Regions from separate parts of the Homo sapiens genome. Here regions 2 and 3 are each linked to region 1. The links are contacts of gene promoters, found by promoter capture Hi-C in blood cells and fetal thymus (Javierre and others, 2016). All regions are on one chromosome and are shown on one strand. The core of a region is centred on a gene start or on the middle of the fragment in contact, and the rest is flanking DNA. Distances in the headings are between cores, read along the strand shown.

What was found. Contacts are between HindIII fragments. The CHiCAGO score rates a contact against its expected background, and 5 or more counts as called.
Region 2: a fragment that was not itself captured here is called in contact with the fragment with the promoter of ACTG2 in region 1 in 2 of 17 cell types (activated CD4 T cells and monocytes); the score reaches 7.0 in activated CD4 T cells.
Region 3: a contact is called between a fragment that was not itself captured here and the fragment with the promoter of ACTG2 in region 1, in 2 of 17 cell types (activated CD4 T cells and naive CD8 T cells). The highest score is 5.4, in activated CD4 T cells.

Annotation. Positions count from the first base shown.
Region 1 is chr2:73,891,366-73,895,014 of GRCh38, forward strand. It overlaps ACTG2 (actin gamma 2, smooth muscle), which reads left to right and starts at 1,643. Exons shown (of 9, transcript NM_001615.4): 1 at 1,643-1,686. RefSeq lists an enhancer at 719-1,532. The HindIII fragment of the contact is 3,877 bases long and covers 1-3,364 here.
Region 2 is chr2:74,017,671-74,021,319 of GRCh38, forward strand. All of the region lies in intron 3 of TET3 (tet methylcytosine dioxygenase 3), which reads left to right. Among named protein-coding and RNA genes, the nearest start is that of TET3, 35 kb to the left of the region's middle. RefSeq lists a silencer at 3,391-3,470. The HindIII fragment of the contact is 1,716 bases long and covers 1,111-2,826 here.
Region 3 is chr2:73,989,392-73,993,040 of GRCh38, forward strand. All of the region lies in intron 2 of TET3 (tet methylcytosine dioxygenase 3), which reads left to right. Among named protein-coding and RNA genes, the nearest start is that of TET3, 6.3 kb to the left of the region's middle. The HindIII fragment of the contact is 5,630 bases long and covers 1-3,649 here.

The DNA of each region.
Region 1 (3,649 bases), core at 393-2,892:
AGTCAGGAAGGCCAGTCAGGAAGCTGCGCCCCACTCCAGGCCAGATAGGACTGGAGCCTGAGGCAGCGCAGGCCAGCAGGGATTGAGGGAGGACACAGAGCTGAGGGGCATTTCTGGTCGGGGGAGCACCAGGCTGTGGTGCCCAGGTGGTTGTGGGAGCATGAGGGAGACACAGGGTTCTAGACTGACTGACTTCTAGCTTGAAGGGCCGAGGGGTGGACTTGGAAGTTGGCAACCCAGGAGGCACAGCAGCTTTGAGGGTAGGGAAGAAGGGTTCAGTTTTAGACAGGATGAGTTTGAAGAGCTGGAGAGTCATCTGGATTGGGATGTCCAATAGGCAATTGATCATTTTAGTCTGGATCAGGGTGAGGGAGGGGGACCATGAGAATGTGGAGTTGAAAGTAATACTGCAGAGCTGGTAGCTGATAATGTGGGAAATGAACCAGCTACCTAGGGATAGTACATGAATTACACAAAGAAGAGCAATCATCAGCCAGCCATGGTGGCTCACACCTGTAATCCCAGCACTTTGGGAGACCAAGGTGGAGGGATTGCTTGAATCCAGGAGTTCAAGATCGAGACCCTGTCTAATTAAAAACAAAACAAACAAACAAAAAGAAGTCCAGGCGTAGTGGCTCACACCTGTAGGCCAAGGCAGGTGGATCACGAGGTCAGGAGCTCGAGACCAGCCTGGCCAACATGGTGAAACCCTGTCTCTACTAAAAATACAAAAATTAGCTGGGCATGGTGGCAGGTGCCTGTAATCTCAGCTACTCAGGAGGCTAAGGCAGGAGAATTGTTTGAACCTGGGAGGCGGAGGTTGCAGTGAGCCGAGATTGCACCAATGCACTCCAGCCTGGGGGATAGGGCGAGACTCTATCTCAAAAAAGAAAAAGAAGCAGCTCAAGAATCACAGGACTGTGGAAAATCCTACAGGCCAAGAGTCTTGTTAGGTGTGCCTCAACCCTGAAGCAGGTCCCTCAGTCTGCAGATATTTAGAGATATTTAAAGGAAAACCAGGAAGGAGCCAAGAGAGAATGAAGCCTAAGGTGTCCTGAGACCCTCAGAGAACTCAGCCCAAGGGTTAGGAGCTTGTGTCAAGGTGCAGCAGGTGAGTAGGGCACGCAGGATTTCTTTCCTGGGTACGGAAGGCATTTCTCTTCAGCTTTCATTGGTCCCAGGCTCGTGCCAGACAAGGCATGATTGCACCCATTTTGGGGACAGTGCCTGGGCGTCCCAGGCAGACCCAGGGGCCGCATGCAGCAGGGCCTGAGGAGGGAGGTGTGGACGGAGGAGGCCCGCTGCCATTCTTGGTATGGTTCTCACTCCAGGAGCACAGCTGCATCTGGTCTCACTCTGGGCAGCTTATAAGGCCTGGTGTGAGTTTTGTTTATGCAAGTGCAGCATAAAAGGAACAAATCTACCAGCACCGGGGCTGTTGCCACTGAGTCCTTTTGCATACATTTTTCAAATGATAACTCACTCTACCCACCCCCCTTCCCTACCCCCAAGGCGATTTATTGAAAAAACCACCTTATATGGTAATATTGCTAACACACCGTCAGCTGGCCTTTTTAGGGACTTTGTTTAAAGAAGATCCGCCTCTGGGGTTTTATATTGCTCTGGTATTCATGCCAAAGACACACCAGCCCTCAGTCACTGGGAGAAGAACCTCTCATACCCTCGGTAAGTACTGTACGGCTTTTGCCACCTCTTCCTTTCCGGGGCTGCCTGGCCTCCTGGGTGCGGGAGGTGCCTCCAGATTGGCCTGGCTTCTGTGACGCTGGCCCAGATCACACACCAGAGCCCTTGGTGGGCAGCGGCACCTGCAAGCATACTGCAGCCTGCTGAGAAAAGGCGTATCTGGCCATGGGACATCCTGGGGCAGGGGCAGCTTGGAACCGTGCTCCCTGCCTCAGAATGGGGACTGGCGGGATATAATGCCTGCAGTCTCTACTAGCCCTGCTCCCCAGGGCCAGTGCAGATCCACACCCTGATGTCCTTTGTCTTGGGTTAGAATGTCTGGGAGGCTGTTTTAGGGGATCATATACTTTGCAGAAAAGCAGCTTTTCAGAATACTTGAGTCAAAGCCAACAGTGGTCCTGGTGTCTGTGAGCTGTTTAGTCCATGAAATGTCTGTGCTGGGAATGGGAGGGTATTTTCTTCAGGTCCCCTGTGGGTCTCTCTGTCCTCTGATCTGTGCTTGGCTGAGGAGAATGGAGGGTTTCTGCAGTCCTTGAAGGCTCTAGGATCATTGGGGGATGGAGAAAATTCCACTTGCCCTGTGGCATCGTGAGGTTTCAGGGTAGAAGGAACTTGGGACCCATCTAGTTCATTCTCCTCTGATGAGGACATTGAGGCCTAGAGACGTACAGCCACTCATCCAAAAGACTCACACCCAACTGTGACCCATTTGCAGATGTCATTACTCCCCCCAACCCACCCAACACACACACAACACATGCACAAAGAATTAAGAGGAAGATGAGATGAAGGGGCCACTTCTATGTTTGGCATCAGAATTCACTAGCATCTCTTCACAGGTGAGGCAGGCTGGGTGTGGCAGTGCAGGCCTTGAAGGCAGACTGTCAGGCTAACCAAGTTACTGAGCGACCTCAGCTTCCTCACCTGTAAAATGGGGGCAAGAATAATAATATCTACTTGGCGATGGTGTGAGGATTAAACGAGAGAATGCGTATATACAGCACTCAGCTCAAGGCTGTCAGGGCCCGGCCCTGAGTTCTCAAACTTTAAGAATCACCTGGAGTGCTTGTTAAAACACAGATTGCCCCATGCCCCACCCCAGATTCTGATTCCAGTAGGCCGAGATATGGCCTGATACTTGGAATTCCTAACAAGCTCCCAGGCGACACTGAAGCTGCTGGTCTGGGACCACACTTTGTACAGGGAGGCTCTAAGTGCTCACTTTGATTACTTGAATGTGGGTTTGGACTCTGATACTAACCCTTGGGCTGAAAAGAGGAAGAGCTTCCTGTGACAGAGAGGGATGGGTGCTGGAGAAACTGCAATGAACAGTAAGATCCTACATGCCAGGCCTGAGAAAAGGGGATGGGCCGTGTGACATCATGACCTTGGGGCGAGATATCTTTCCTCTTTCCCCTTGTTCATTCTGCCAACATTTATTGAGCACTTATTATGGGCCAGGCACTGTCTCTGCTCCTTAGGGACAGTGGAGAGGCTTCTGCAGTTACTGGAAGAGACAGATAAACAGATGAGAACCATGGAGCAAATAAGTACACGAAAGGGGTAAAGGCCAGGAGGAGCCCATCACTCAACCCAGGAGTTATCAGGGAAGACTTCCTGGAGGAAGAGGTGCCTGAGCTTGGTCCTGAAGTAAGGACCAAGCTTGGTCCTTCCTGGTAAAGAGGAAGCATGGTCTTTGGGACTCAAGTGGCTCAATTCCACTGAATTTAGATAGCAAGGCAGGAATCAGGTAAAACTAAATTCAGAGGGGTCCGCAGGGCTGGATTACAAGGGCTTTAGACTCTAAAGGATCAGGCTATGGGGAGCCATGGAAGGGTTTTAATCTGGAGGGTATCTGTTGAAGGGGCTGCTTTGGCAGCTGTGAGGAGAGTGGACTGGAACAGGGCAAGAGCGCTACTGCAGCATGCGGTGGTCCTGAGCTGGT
Region 2 (3,649 bases), core at 719-3,218, 130 kb after region 1:
ATGTTGTCAATACTGCCGCAGTAAACATGGGAGTACAGACATCTCTTTGACACACCTATTTCAATTCTTTTGGACGTATATCCAGAAGTGAGATTGCTGGATCATACGGTAGTTCTAGTTTTAGTTTTTTTGAGAAACCTCCATGCTGTTTTCCGTAATGGCTGTACTAATTTACATTCCCACCAACAGTCTGTAAGAGTTCCCCTTTCTCCGCATCCTCACCATCATTTATTTTTTGTCTTTTTCTTAACAGCCTTTTTAACTGGGATAAGATGAAACCTCTTCTGTCTCTTTTTTTTTTTTTTTTTTTTTTTGAGACGGAGTTTTGCTCTTGTCGCCCAGGCTGCAGTGCAGTAGCACAATCTCGGCTCACTGCAACCTCCTCCTCCCGGATTCAAGCAATTCTCCTGCCTCAGCCTCCCGAGTAGCTGGGATTACAGGCATGTGCCACCGTGCCCGACTAATTTTGTATTTTTAGTAGAGACGGGGCTTCTCCATGTTTGTCAGGCTGTTTTCGAACTCGCGCCCTCAAGTGATCGGCCTGCCTTGGCCTCCCAGAGTGCTGGGATTACAGGTGTGAGCCACCGTGCCTGGCCTTCTTCTGTCATCTTAAGTGAGAAAACATAGTATAGCTTTCATCGTTATGAGGGTTTTGATACTAACTTCTGTTACGTTTTGAAAAAAATTTTGGCCTGTTTGTCTTTCATTGTGTCTATCATAAAAATTTGATTTTTATACAACGAGAATTCATCAGTATTTTGGCTTTTCTTACTTAAGTTTTATTTTAGATGTTCAGATTTCTAAGGTGAGATTTATTTTTGCATGCGATATAAGATAGGGATTGAACTTTTCCTAAATAGAAAGCCTGTTATCCCCAATCTATTTATTGGGTATTTGTAGTTTCCCTTGTAGTGTATGAATTCTACCTTAAGCATTTCATAAGTACTCTTACAGTCATGGGTGTTTTAAGGCCTCTTTTTACTTCCATTGACTTATTTGTCTGATTCTGTGTATTTCATTGTTTTAATTACCACCATTTTTATATAATACTTTGGTTTAAAACATACTTCTTACTTTTTTTTTTTTTTTTGGCATTTCTTTCTCCAAATAAGCTTATAAACAACTTACCATGTTCTGCGAAAAATACTGGGATTTTTCAGTTGGAATCACATGAAACGTACAGGTTATTTTGGGGAGAATAGATAGCTTTACAATGAATCTTCCTATCCAGAGAAAGGGAAGTAGACCTTTCCGTTTATTCTAGTCTTTTTTGTGTGTTCATCAAAGTTTTAAGGCCAGGTGTGGTGGCTCATGCCCCATAATGCCAGTGCTTTGGGAGGCTGAGGCGGGAAGACTGCCTGAAGCCAGGAGTTTGAGATCAGCCAGGGTAACATAGTGAGACCCCCCGCCAACCCTCATCTCTACAAAAAATAAAAACTAGCTGGGTGTGGTGGCGCATGCCTGTAGTCCCAGCTACTTGGGAGGCAGATGTGGGAGGATCGCTGTAGCCCAGGAGTTGGAGGCTGCGGTGAGCTATGATCTGGCCACTGCACTCCAGTCTGGGCGACAGAAGGAGACTCTGTCTCTAATAAAAACCAAACAAACAAAATAAATGAAACGTTTTAAGGTTTTCTTCTTACACATTTCTTGTGAAGTTTCTTCCTAGATATGCTGTAGCTGCTGTTGTTGCTGTTGGGAATGGGATCTTTTCTGTTATACTTTGTATCCCATCTTTGCCCGCATATTAGAAATGCAGCTGCTCTGTGCTGCCTCTTCTGACACTTCTGTCCCTTTCTCCCTCAAGTCCTCATGGTATATTGTCTGTACCTCCGTGGCAATACTGTGTGCCTGAGTGTGAGTTCCCAGTGGTGGGGTGCTCATCTCACTCCATTTCATGTCACCAGTACCTGGCACAAAGCCTAGCATGCGGTAAATCCTTTTAATAAACGCCGTGGCATCAGATTGATGAGAGGGACAGTGAGCTTCACCTCTTCAAAGTGTGACAGCCTGGGCCAATGTGAGCAGCAGAATCTCAAGCAGCCCTGGCTCCAGGCCCTGCAGGCTGTGATCTGGATAACAGATTGGGCACCCTCCTTGTCCCCGCAGGAAAAAGGAGGTCCTGGGCCATTTTTCCACGTGCAGACATCAGGGAGGAGCCCTCTGAGCCTCTATCTCATTATTATCCTGAGACCCACAGCCCCCTTGTTGTTAGCCCTCATTAGTGCTAACTAGTTGGGAGAACTGCTTTCTTAGCTTCCAATCATTTCAAGGTAGCACAAACAAACTTATCTGCAGCTTCCCTTAGGGGATGAGGACTCATCAAGGCTGGAAGCAGAGCTTGTACAGAACATTGTGAGATGGGTTCACACCTATGTGCCCAGTCACCTTCTCTCATATGGTAGTGCCTTTCTTTTTTCTTCTACTATTCTCCTCCAGAGTATATGCATCCCCCCAACCCAGTATGTCCTACGTGAAGTTTATTCCTATCCGTGTGCTAATCTTTACCATAGCGTTTGCATTTGTTTTTCCCTTGAGACAGAGTCTCACTCTGTCACCAAACCTGGAATGCAGTGGCATGATCTTAGCTTACTGCAATCTCTGCCTCTGGGTTCAAGTGATCCTCCCACCTCAGCCTCCCTAGTAGTTGGGACTACAGGTGCATACCACCACACCCAGCTATTCTTTGTATTTTTTTAGAGATGGGGTTTCACCATATTGCCCAGGCTGGTCTTGATTTCTGGGGCATAAGTGGTCTGCCTGCCCAAAGTGTTGGGATTACAGGCATGAGCCACAGTGCCCAGGCTTGGTGTTTGCATTTTATATGTAAGCTTTTGTTTGTAATTGGGGAATGGCAGGCACTATTCCTTGATGGAGCTGTCTGGGGCATGCCAATTCACTCTGTACCCTTGGCAGTGGTTCCAGACTCTCAGGTCCCTGCCCCCACTGGTCTCTGCTGCCCCTGGAGCAAGGATGGTGATGTCTACCTGCCTTGGAGGGACCCAGGAACAAGGGAACTCCCACCTCTTGTTCAAGGGCTTGAGGGCTATGCCCTTGGAGAGAAGGGAATCCCTGCTGTTGTTAAGCAGGGGTCAGGATTTCTGCCTCTCAACATGCATAAAAAGAAGGTGGGAGTGAGGACGTGAGCTGATTTCTAATCCCTCTCTAGCAGTTGTGCATCTGGTTCAGCGTGTCCCGGGGTTTCCCTGGGTTTTGCTTGACCGCAGCAGTAAGCTGTTCCTCATTTATCCCGTGGTCTGTGCTCACCCTCCCCTTCCCACTCACTCATCTCCCATGCTCAGGGTGGCAGAGGACATAGAAATGCTTCTCTGGCTCCTCTGCTGGTTTGTTTTAATCCCTGGGAAACATTGGAACCAAGAGGACACTCAAGAAATACTGGATTGGGGAAAAGATCTGGAAGTATTGCTCTATCTGCCCCTATCCCCTGCTGTTGGTTTCTTACTTCATCTCCCAGTGCCCACCTGGGGCCTCTGAGTCTCCCCAGCCAGGTGGCCCTGAGGCTCCCCATGAGGCCCCAGCTGCATCCACAGCTGCATCTCTGCCAGCTCTGGAGGAGCTGCTTTCTCAGGGTGCTGAGCAGAGACTCTGACAGATGGACCTCCATGAACCGATGGAGCTGTTCCAGATGCCT
Region 3 (3,649 bases), core at 461-2,960, 98 kb after region 1:
CCCTTCTGTCTCCATCTCTCGTAGCTGACTTTGGGGCTTCCTTTGAATTGTCTGCTTGCAGTTACTTTATATCATCCTGTAAGGAGGAGATTATCTTGGGTTTTCCATCTTCTTTCCCTGCTCCTCACTCTTTTTCTCTGGGCTTTGTCGGTGGGGAGAAGGGTGCAGGGGAATCCCTCAGAAAAGAAGTTCAGCATTTTAGGGCTAGAGACAGGTCCCCCAGGGATGGGCCTTCCTGCCCTAGGAGGCGGTGACTACTTCTCTGGGTCCTAATGTGAGGTTGGGGCAGGTTGGTAGTAGCTGTGGTCTTCCTTCCTAGTTCCAGGAAGACTTTAGAGGAGGTTGTTTGATTTCATATTCTTTTTACCTGAGTGGTGGCTTGGTAGTACAATGAAGATGACTGAGTAGAAAAGTAGGGTTTGGTGAGTAAGGAAGCACAGTGGATAGGGCTGAGAACCCAGAGTAAGTGCTGTGCCCTTACTCTCTTGGGCAACCAGTGCTCCATCCCTTCTGTGTCCATTTTCTCAATTGTAAGATGGGAGTAACCCTGCTTTGTAGGGTTGTCATGAGGATTAAATGAGATAAAATATGCATAATGTCTGGCACATAGTAGGTAATCAATGCATGATGACAAAACATTCCTAAACATCTAGAAAATGATGAATCTTTATGCATAAACAACTGTGCATTAGTCTTCGAGCTGTAAAGATGCAATACAAGGGCTAGGTATGGTGGCTTACTCCTGTAATCCCAGAGCTTTGGGAGGCTGAGGCAGGATGATCACTTGAGACCAGGCTGGGCAACATAGCAAGACCCCATTGCTAAAAAAAAAAAAAAATTAGCCAGGCATGGTGGCATGTGCCTGTAGTCCTAGCTCCTGGAAAGACTGAGGTGGGAGAATCGCCTGAGCCCACAGTGGGCAATATTTGAGCCACTGCACTCCAGCCTGCATACAACTCCAGATGCAATACAAATTAAGCGTTTATCTCAAGGCATTCACCTCACTTGCTCATAGAAGAACCGTGGGGCAGAACAGTAGAGCCAGGCAGAGGGAGGGAGGAGTTTGCCAGCCTCTGTGCTGGGGGAGGAGGCTAGACACCAAGGAGTCACTATGGTCCTAGGCCTGACTGAAAAGTTGACCATGGATGAGGGAAGTAAATAACTATTAGAGTAGGAGAATGACCCTTAAAAAAATGCATAGAAAAATGTATGCATAAGTTTGGAAGCATGACTGAGAATATTATGGGTGAAAATGAGAGAAATGGAAAGATATATGTGATGAGAATACTTTCTAGCCCTCAGCCAACTGGATTTACATCTTGAAACAGATCTCTGCCAGATTTGAGTCAAGATACCTTGGAATTGGGAATCTTTCAACAATATCAGAACACCTGATGAATCCTTGCCCATCCTGCTGGTAGTTCTATCTTCCTGAAGATGGAGGCTGTGGAGAGGAATGTGTTCAGGCTGGTCTCAGCATCAAAGGGAGAATTGACTAGAGAAGTGGAAGTGATGAGAATCTTTAGAGAAAGGGACCGCATCTGAGCATTTGTCAAGCCTGAAAGAAGGTTGGACAGGGAGGAGTGTTTGTATTTTTAGTAGAGATGGGGTTTCACCATGTTGGCCAGGCTGGTGTTGAACTCCTGACCTCAGGTGATCCACCCACCTTGGCCTCCCAAAGTGCTGGGATTACAGGCGTGAGTCACCGTGCCCGGCCCTTGGTGTTTTTTTAAATAGAGACAGGGTCTCGCTATTTTGCCCAGGCTGGTCTTGAACTGGTGAATTACAATTTTTATGGATAGTCTTTAGAATATCGTCTTTCAAATGCAAGCGGTTTTTAACTCCACGGCCACAGATTCTAAATGAAAATTAGCTGGAGGGATAGAATTGCTTGTTAAAAAGCAAACTCTGGCCGGGCACGGTGGCTCACGCTTGTAATCCCAGCACTTTGGGAGACCAAGGCAGGCAGATCACCTGAGGTCAGGAATTCGAGACCAGCCTGACCAACATGGAGAAACCCCATCTCTACTAAAAATACAAAATTAGCCAGGCGTGGTGGTGGGTGCCTGTAATCCCAGCTCCTGAGGATTGGACAGATGAGAAGTCCAGTTTTTGACTTAAAGTCATCTTAGAGGGAGGCCACTGATACGACTGCCCTGTTCAGTCTGTCAACCATGTAGATCAGGGGTTCCACATTGGGATCACCTGGGAAATGTAGCAAAACATGGTGCCTGGGCCCCACTCCCAAGGGATTCTGATTTAATTGATCCAGGGTGGACCAAACTGGTCTGGGGCTCCCAGGTGTACCTAGGCTGAGGCAGGAGAATCCCTTGAACCCAGGAGGCAGAGGTTGCAGTGAGCTGAAATTGCGCCATTGCACTCCAACCTGGGCAACAAGAGTGAAACTCTGTCTCAAAAAAAAAAAAAAAAAAAAAAAGAAGGAAACGCTGATAGAACAGTCATGAATGATAGCTTCAGGAGAAAGGTGTTGGTGGGACTGGGGAAGGACTGAGCCATCTGTGTGGCTGTATGGGCTGTTCTCTAGTGAGTGAGGGGGTAAAAGGCCAAGCACATTATGTGGAAAGTGGGGACATGGCACTGAAGCAGAGTCAGGAGTGTGGTCTGAGCCCCTAAGAGGAGCATCAGGGAGTCCAGTGGCCAGAATGTGCTAAGGCTGGTGGAAAATGCTGATAACAATGTCTTGTATATGGTTCTAGCAAGAGTGAGAGGGAAGAGGTAGGCTTACAACTTTCTAGGGATGGAGAGAGTGGACAGACACTGGGTCCCTGTGGTGTCAGAAGATATAACCTGGGGAAAACAGAGCCAGCCAGCTACCCTACCTGAGTCTGAGTCATTCACTTCCTACTGAACACCTGCAGATGTGATTGCAAAATCACAATCTTTTTTTCTTTTCTTTTTTTTTTTTGTTTTGTTTTGTTTGAGATGGAGTCTCGCTCTGTTACCCAGGCTGGACTGCAATGGCGTGATCTTAGCTCACTGCAACTTCCACCTCCCCGGTTCAAGCGATTCTCCTGCCTCAGCCTCCCGAGTAGCTGGGATTACAGGCATGTGCCATCACGCCTGGCTAATTTTTGTTTTTTTAGTAGAGAAGGGGGTTCACCATGTTCGCCAGGCTGGTGTTGAACTCCTGACCTCAGGTGATCTGCCCACCTTGGCCTCCGAAAGTGCTGGGATTACAGGCGTGAGCCACTGTGCCCGGCCCTTGTTGTTTTTTTAAATAGAGACAGAGTGTCGCTATTTTGCCCAGCCTGGTGAACTCATGGTGAATTACAATTTTTATGGAATTATGATGATTGAAAGAGGGCCAAAAAACCAGAGATGGGCTAAAAGTCCAATTTCTCAAAGAGATTTTGAAAATTGTAAATATATAATCTTAATGTCAGTTTTTGAGAGTTCTAGAACAGATTGTTTAAAAGGTGTTTTGTGAAACTTTAGAAAGGCAGGTGATAAACTTTGAGGGTGCTTGTGGTTCTTTTCAAAGCAGCTGAGGCAAATGAACAGATCTAGATTTCTGTAAATAAATGATGGCATCTCCTGCCAGCTTGGACAGATGAGAAGTCCAGTTTTTGACTTAAAGTCATCTTAGAGAGGGAGGCCACTGATATGACTGCCCTGTTCAGTCTGTCAG